3 separate regions of the Homo sapiens genome follow, and regions 2 and 3 are each linked to region 1. The links are contacts of gene promoters, found by promoter capture Hi-C in blood cells and fetal thymus (Javierre and others, 2016). All regions are on one chromosome and are shown on one strand. The core of a region is centred on a gene start or on the middle of the fragment in contact, and the rest is flanking DNA. Distances in the headings are between cores, read along the strand shown.

Region 1 (2,700 bases), core at 25-2,524:
CACTTACAAAGCCGGGGTTCTGCTAGCTGGGGAGGAGGGAAAGGATACTCAGCAGGCAACTCACAGTGTCTGCAGCCACAGCTCATTAAAGGAAACAGCAGAAAACACAGCAGAGATATTGGAATCCTCGCCCTGGGCTAGTGAGAATATAAAATGGTTCAGCCACTTTGGAAAATAGCCTGGCAGTTCCTCAAAAAGTTCAATACAGAGTGGCCAGATAGTCCAGAAATTCTACTCCTAGGTATGTACCTGTGAGTAATGCAAACACATGTCCACAAAAAAAACTCATACACAGAGGTTCATAGCTGCTTTGTTCTTAATAGAAGGAAACAGGGACAACCCAAATGTCCATCAACTAGAAATCAAATGGATAAACAAATGTGTTATAGCCACACAATGAAATATTACTCAGCCAGAAAGAAGGAAGAAGTACTGTTACATGTTGCAACAGGGCTGGATCTTGAAGACCCTGTGAATATACTAAAACCCACTGAATTGCACACTTTAAATGTGTGGACGATACAGCATGTGAATTATATCTGTATAAAGCTGTTATACATGTACATAAACAAGCATGTGTACACACACACACACAGGCAAAGAGAAAGGAAAGCACTCTCAATTCCATCCACTCAGAGACAGCCCCTCTTACCATCCCAGGATCAGGATATACTTATAGTTTCTTTTTAATTCACACATATATTTCACCGACATATCCTCTGAAGGTAACCCACTAGAGGGCTTCATGCAAGACAAATTAGCAAGAGTTATAAAACCAATGAATCCAACTTATCAGCAGAATCAACCCTGATACTCTTACCATCAGGCTGAGTGAGACAATCACCTGTCTATTTACTTTGCCCTGATTTGTCACGCAGTTTACTCATCCTGAGGTTCCCCCAATAGGCAGTTCAATTATCCTGCCCCATTTTGTAGCCAAGGCAACTGAGTAGAAGGTTTATTCATACCCATTCTGACCTCTTCCCAGCTCCTAAGCTGGGGTCTTACAGCCTTCAAGGGTGAAGACGCTGGGGGCGGCCGAGAGAGCCCACTGGGGCCTGGACAGAGTGAGCACACCTATCCGATTTAGCCCAGAAACATCTATCCAACTTGGAGACAGAGAGAGAGACATGAAGCACTCAGGAGAACCTGGTAGGTCTCTTTGAAGGGTCCCTGACACTGACTTGCTGCTGTCCATGGAAACAAAGGCCGGGTGGGGGTGGCCGGCCTGTTTGCACTCACAGCATAGCACTTAGTGCAGCCAAGCTGAGCCGCACTGTTCAAACAGTCTCCCCAGCCTCCAGACACCTGTGCCGAGGAGGAGGGCAGGGCAGGCGGCAGCCTGGGCACAGGCCCCTAGGTGCTTACTCCTCACCTGTTTCCCACCTCTCCCCCATAGCCAGCCCCACGGCCCTGGCAGGGTCCTGGCCACAGCATGCCCAGTGCTGGGCTCTGCAGCTGCTGGGGTGGCCGGGTGCTGCCCCTGCTGCTGGCCTATGTCTGCTACCTGCTGCTCGGTGCCACTATCTTCCAGCTGCTAGAGAGGCAGGCGGAGGCTCAGTCCAGGGACCAGTTTCAGTTGGAGAAGCTGCGCTTCCTGGAGAACTACACCTGCCTGGACCAGTGGGCCATGGAGCAGTTTGTGCAGGTGAAGGGGAGCGATGTGGGATTGGGATGGAGAGGCTTGGGAAGGTTGGTGGAATGGGGTTCCTGTGGCAGATCCACAGTCCTCACCCAGGAGCTGATGCCCCATTTGGAAGAAGAGTGTGGTGGGAACAGAGAGCCTGGTGAGATCTAATCCTGGATTCTGGCCCCAGGTCTACAACTGGATTGATGTGTGACCTTGAACAGGTCACTTAACCTCTCTGGACCCAAACAGCCTCATCTATAAGGCAACAAGAATAACCATATCGGTACTGCAGACATTTGACAGCAGATTAAAAGCACTCTCTAAGCTGTCACTTGCTGGATGAATGGGAACTATATGTCAGCGTTATCAACGCTATCCAAATTTCCTCCTCCCACACTTTCATACTTCCCCTTCCCCAACTCCAGGGCTGCAGCTCCTTCTGCCCTCTCCCAGCTCATATCCCTGGGCAGACGGCTGCGGGTGGGAGACACAGATAAATGCCAGGAGCAGCCACCACCAAGCTGTCCTTTCCTGGCCTGTTTGCACCTGGAGTTGGGTTTGGTGGGCAATGGCCAAGGTGACTGAGCTTGCCAGCACTGCACCCAAATGGGGCTCTCTCTTGGTAACAGAGTGGGTCACCCCCTGCCTGGGTCCTTTCTGGTTTCCTCTTTCCCAGAAACAAGACAAAACCAGGTGTTGTGGAGGGAGGTGAATGCATCTGAAATAGGCACTGGAGCGAGTGACAACATCCCCTGCAAAGGAACAGACCAAGTGCCAAATCACCTTGATAACTGGCATTTACTGAGCATTCACAATGTGCCTAAAACAGTGGGAAGCAGGGTGGTCATGACCAGCTTAATCCAATCATGATCCACTCATCACCTGACACTGAGCGTGTTACAGGTGTTTTCTCATAATTACCTATTACAATCCCTATCTCCACTTTGTAGATGGGAACTGAGGTAGAATATGTTGACCAAGGCTGCACAGCTACTGGTAGAGACAGCATTCACTCCCAGGCCTCTGGCTCTGGAGCCCCGGGTCTTCACCACACAAATTAGCATAAGTGC
Region 2 (2,700 bases), core at 158-2,657, 300 kb after region 1:
ATTCTGGAGCCCACAGTGCAGGGTGGGATGGGGGTAGGCAGCTGCCCACTACACCAGCACAGCAAGACTGCAGGGGTGTGGCCCTCCCTCCCAGGCCCTTCTGTTCAGACACCCAAGGGGAACATGTGCACCCCTGGGATCACACGACCAGAAAACAAGACCCCAGAGGTTTCTTGAATCTCTGCTTACCAGAGAAGCTGAGTGCAGCCCTGCCAGCCCATCCCTGAGCAGGGCACCCCCAGGTGGGACAAAGCAAGGTATGGCTCGACTGGGCAGGGCAGGGCAGGGCTGGGCAGGCAGGTGGGCTCTGGAAGGGGAGGATGGTAGCAGACAGGGTGTTGCCTCCTGCCTGCAGGTGGGAAGCACCCTGATTGAGTGGGCTGAGAAGGGTTGGTCACCAAGCCTGGACCCCCCAGCTCCTTTGGTTATAGGCTGATATCAGAGTAGTGGCTCACAGGAAGCAGTTAGCTGGAAAGTCTGAGGCCTGGTCCATAGGGTCAGGGAGGAGCTGGGGGAAGAGGACAGTACCGTGAAGGCAGATAAAAAGGTAGCAGCCTCAGATTTCTGCATCCCCCTGGGGTTTGCCAACCCAAAGCCTGCAGCTTACTTTATAAAGAGAAGAAAAAAAAACACTTAATGAAAGTTATAGACAGCTACCCCCCACTTACCCACACACACAAAATCCAAATGATTTTTTTCATCTCCCCTCCAGCCTCCTCCCAATACAATACAGTTTCCTGTTTTCTTTCTTTTAAAAAATTCCCTTTTAAGCTAGGATTATACTTTGGAAACTCAGGTCTAAAGTAACACTTGTTATGTGTCCATTCCTATAATAGTAGTAATCCAACAGTTCAACACACTCACGGCTGTTGTTTGACTTGTGCAATCAGCTGGCTTAAAGAAAGCTGAAGAGTGCTTTAAATATCATTTCATACAAGGTCTTAGAAAAGGTGAAAGAAATAACTAATCAGGAAGATTGCTCTTCTCAAATTTATAAGGAGTTGGTTGGCATTTTGTAATGATTTACACTAAAAATAAGCAACATTTTCTTTTCTTTAATAAATGAACTGGTCCTTATGCAATAGGCCTTAGGCTGTGCAGTATTTCCTGTCTAATCAGTTACTAAGCTTCCCAGCAGCATCTTTGAAGATGAGGAGAAATGATGTTCCTGCCACGAGTTTAAGACAGGCAGTTTTTCCCCCAAATGAGAAGCAAATGTAGTTCATTGGTAAATTAAACCAAAGGTCAGAAATCATTAAACAAAGATAGGGTTGGTCAACCCCGTTGAATAAAAATGCACCAAGCACCTTCCCCGGTTCTTTGCTGTAAGGCAGGGACATTAAACTGCTGAAAATTAGAGACACCCAGGAATCTTCTAAAACTCCCAATTCCCAAGTCACAGCTCAGATAAATACAATCAGAATCTCTGGAGGTGGAACCCAGGCACCAGATTTGTTTTAAGGCAGGGATTCTCAGACTTTAATGTTCATGGGAATCACCTGAGGAGGGGGATGTACTAAAAGTGCATGTTCTGATTCAGTAGGTAGATCAAGAGTGGGGCCTGAAATTCTGCATTTCAATCAAGCTCCCAGGTGATACAGACGCTGCTGGCTGGTGGACCACATACTGGGTAGCAAAGGTCCAAGGTCAAGGTTCTTCACTCATTAGAATGACCAAGGAAGCTTTTCAGAAAATTTATTGCCACCAACAGTGTGACAGCATTCCTATTTCTCCGCAGCCATTGTGAAAGACAGTGTGGCAATTCCTCAAGGATCTAGAACCAGAAATACCATTTGACCCAGCAATCCCATTACTAGGTATATACCCAAAAAAATACAAATCATTCTGCTATAAAGACACATGCACACATATGTTTATTGCAGCACTACTTATAATAGCAAAGACATGGAACCAACCCAAATGTCCATCAATGATAGACTGGATAAAGTAAATGTGGTACATATACACCATGGAATACCATGCAGCCATAGAAAGGAATGAGATCATGTCCTTTGCAGGGACATGAATGAAGCTGGAAGCCATCATCCTCGGCAAACTAACACAGGAATAGAAAACCAAACACCGCGTGTTCTCACTCACAAGTAAGAGTTGAACAATGAGAACACATGGACACAGGGAAGGGAACACACACACTGAGGCCTATTGGTGGGGGAAGGGGAAGGAGAGCATTAAGACAAATAGCTGATGCATGCGGGGCTTAAAACCTAGATGATAGGTGCAGCAAACCACCATGACACATGTATACTTATGTAACAAACCTGCACGTTCTGCACATGTATCCCGGAACTTAAAGTAAAATAAAAAAGAAAAGAAAAGAAAATTGATTGTATGGATTCTAGAGGGCTCATCCCTAGAGATTCTGATATACTTGTTCTGGGGCCCCAGGCAGTAGTATGTGTTAAAAGCTCCCTGGGTGATTTTACTGTGGAGGCAGGTGTGAGAACCACTGCCCCGTAAAAAGCTCTGCAGACAAGTCATTGACAGTCACTGATGCACAGTTGTTTTAAGAACAAGTTTGACAAGTGGGAAGAGTACAGGCACAATATTAAGAAGACTGTCACTAGTACAAGCTGACTCTTTCCAGGGCCCCTTGAGACACACACCTTCTCTGAAATGACTAATCCAGGACATAATTGGCTCCAGTAAAACTTCGGTATAAACAGGAGAGTTGGGACTACC
Region 3 (2,700 bases), core at 72-2,571, 350 kb after region 1:
TGTGCACCATCTAATGGTGGGAACGGGTATTTTGGAATCAGTAACAAGTTGTCCTGCCTAAGGTAAATCAGAACTGACTCACCCCCAAAACCCAGAAGACTGGTTCACAGTTATTCATAGTTACAAAGAAAGATACACATGATCTCATGAAAGCTGGAGACAATACGTTTGGTGACATTTACTACCATAATGCTAAGCTTTATTCTTTATCATCACTCTCCACACTTTCCTGAAACCACATAACTTATTAAGCACTTTCTAAATAAATACTTGATTAAACAAACTACCTTAAACAATATGTCACAAAACCATCACTGCCCTGTGAGAACATAGTTTCTTTACTAGACATTTTAATACCTTTATACAGGAATCAGCTATCTTGAACTACATAAAACTACAAAATAGTGAGCATGATAAATATATGGCAAGGCATATATACCATGTCTCAACTGTAAGCGAAAATACAACTCACACCGGCTTAACTAGTAAAGGGGATGTGCCGTCTATACAACTGGGGTTTCAGAGGAAAACAGCATTCAGGATTAGTTTGTGTCATCATGGACCCACTTACTTTCTGGTTCCCCACTCTGTGTTCCACAATGCCAGCTTTATGCTAAACATGGTGTCCCTCAAGGCGGCAACATGGCTGCACCTGCTCATGTCTGGTTTTCTTTTCTGATTATGCCATATAATCAATACTTACCCCACTTTGACAAACAGACCATGGAAGTTATAAAGGCTAGTATTCCAAAGACAGTTAACATGAACACCGTATTTAAATTAAAGTTTTGCACCCACAGAAACTAAAGAAATTATTTAAGGCCCAAAGTTAAACTGTCAAATCACTCAATAGAGTGAAACATTTGATCCGAGTAAAAATAATTATGTATAATTGCTTTGAGATATACATGTATAAATTAAATAAATTATTGAATTTAATTAAGTGATAAAGATTGAGGCTTAGGGCATTTGAGAATTAATGACTAGCTGGAAAAGTTGATGACCCAACAGAGTTTTAGCCCATTAACCCTCTCTAGTCATTAATTCCCAGGGAAAAGCTGCACCAAAGTTTGTACAGACATTCTGAGATCAAAAGCTTAAAAATAAACCAATATCTTATTTTATTTTTATAAATGGTATAATTTCTTATTACAGCTGAAATGGCTATCTACAGAGCATTTCTAGAAAATTAATGTCCTGTGTATTTATTAGGTGTGATGGGAAATCTCTCTCAACACTCCATTCAGCTTGCAATTATTAGTGAAAACCATTATCAGTATTTAAACATAGCATCCTTAAATATTCCTTCTTTGCCTGAAATGATCCGTTAATGAAAAATGAAAGTCTGCCTTTAACTGAAAATGGAAATTTAACTGTCTCAATCTGTCACTCCTTAAGTACTACCTATTCATATTGATCATGAAATTCCAAGACTGCTAGAGATGCATTCTTAGAAATCAGAAGGTGTGTCTCCCAAATCATAAAACGAACAAAAAATTGGTGAAGGTAAAATGGAGCATATACTATAGAAAATGGAATAAGCTTTCCATGCGAATATCAGGAGGAAACTAGACTGAGGTTTAAAATTCACAGGTAATGATAAACAAAAATGGAAAAACCAGGATTGAGCATCACGAGAAGAATGTGGTAACATCCATGATTGTGGGGTTTCTAGCAATAATGTTGCAGCAGGAGCAGTCTCTTGTCACATACCTGCTGCATTGACATCTGAATCAGCTTTCGAGCATGTACTTCTTGTCCTTGCCCCATTGAGATAGTTCTACATTCTGTAACATAGGAGAAAGTTCACTATGATGAAACACAACTCTTACAGCAGGATTAGAATGAAAAATTAATTTCTGAATGATTATAGCCTCCTTCTATTGTTTCTAAAAAAAAAAAAAAATCTTTGCTGTTCAAACAGGCCTGGCCTTTGGTTGTGTGGATCAGAGAAATGCATGGAGCAGAGACCTGGAGGCACCACCCGGAAAAGCGTGGGTTGGGGGTCAGGAAGGGAGAGAAAAAGGCACGTATGGTGGGCTTTTAGAGAGTTTGAGATTCTTTGGAGACAATGAGGAACAAGATCAATGGTGGGAGAGGCAACTACAATGCTATCACAGGTATTTGTAGGGAAAAAGGATTTTTTAGTTTTGCTGTAAGTTTTGGTTAGAATCCTTTTCGGCGTTTTAGCAGACGCTTCTGTAAAGATTTAATTTTCTGTTTATTCCTTTTAGATATCAGGCTCACAGTGTTTTCTGTCTGCTTGTTTTGGTTTTCTTTGTATGTTTGATCATTTTTCTGAGATGAAATTTGAGACAGTTCAGCCCTGTGACGGGTACATTCAGGGGCAACTGTCTAAGACCTAGTTCTCAGCTGCTCCTCAGATTAAATCACCACCTTGGAACTAAACATGAAAACACTCCACGATGAGAAATGTCATAATTCCAGAGATAATACACCATTTAGGACCAGATGTCCCAGGCAGAGAACCATGCTTGTGACCTCCCACATGAATTAGCTAAAATGAAGAAGTCTGAGAATCATGTTTGCACAACTGCAATTGGAAATTAACTCTTAAGCAAGCCCTTGTGGACCCAAATTTTCTTGAGTTCTAGAGGCATAATCCCTGTACAAGGAAAAGCAATCAATGGAGACATTGTGAACCAGTGTGTGTTTATGGTAACTGCTGGTAGAGACTAT

The links. The method cuts DNA at HindIII sites, captures the fragments that hold promoters and counts their contacts. A CHiCAGO score of 5 or more calls a contact.
Region 2: a fragment that was not itself captured here is called in contact with the fragment with the promoter of KCNK16 in region 1 in 2 of 17 cell types (naive CD4 T cells and activated CD4 T cells); the score reaches 5.4 in naive CD4 T cells.
Region 3: a contact is called between a fragment that was not itself captured here and the fragment with the promoter of KCNK16 in region 1, in 2 of 17 cell types (naive CD4 T cells and activated CD4 T cells). The highest score is 7.6, in naive CD4 T cells.

Annotation. Positions count from the first base shown.
Region 1 is chr6:39,321,276-39,323,975 of GRCh38, reverse strand. KCNK16 (potassium two pore domain channel subfamily K member 16) reads left to right here and starts at 1,274. Exons shown (of 5, transcript NM_001135106.2): 1 at 1,274-1,648. The coding sequence starts at 1,436. The region is part of intron 1 of LOC105375047 (a long non-coding RNA gene); the gene reads right to left. The HindIII fragment of the contact is 9,631 bases long and covers 1-2,700 here.
Region 2 is chr6:39,020,149-39,022,848 of GRCh38, reverse strand. All of the region lies in intron 91 of DNAH8 (dynein axonemal heavy chain 8), which reads right to left. Among named protein-coding and RNA genes, the nearest start is that of GLP1R, 27 kb to the left of the region's middle. The HindIII fragment of the contact is 555 bases long and covers 1,130-1,684 here.
Region 3 is chr6:38,970,679-38,973,378 of GRCh38, reverse strand. DNAH8 (dynein axonemal heavy chain 8) reads right to left here. Exons shown (of 93, transcript NM_001206927.2): 83 at 1,714-1,787. Among named protein-coding and RNA genes, the nearest start is that of DNAH8-AS1, 19 kb to the right of the region's middle. The HindIII fragment of the contact is 446 bases long and covers 1,099-1,544 here.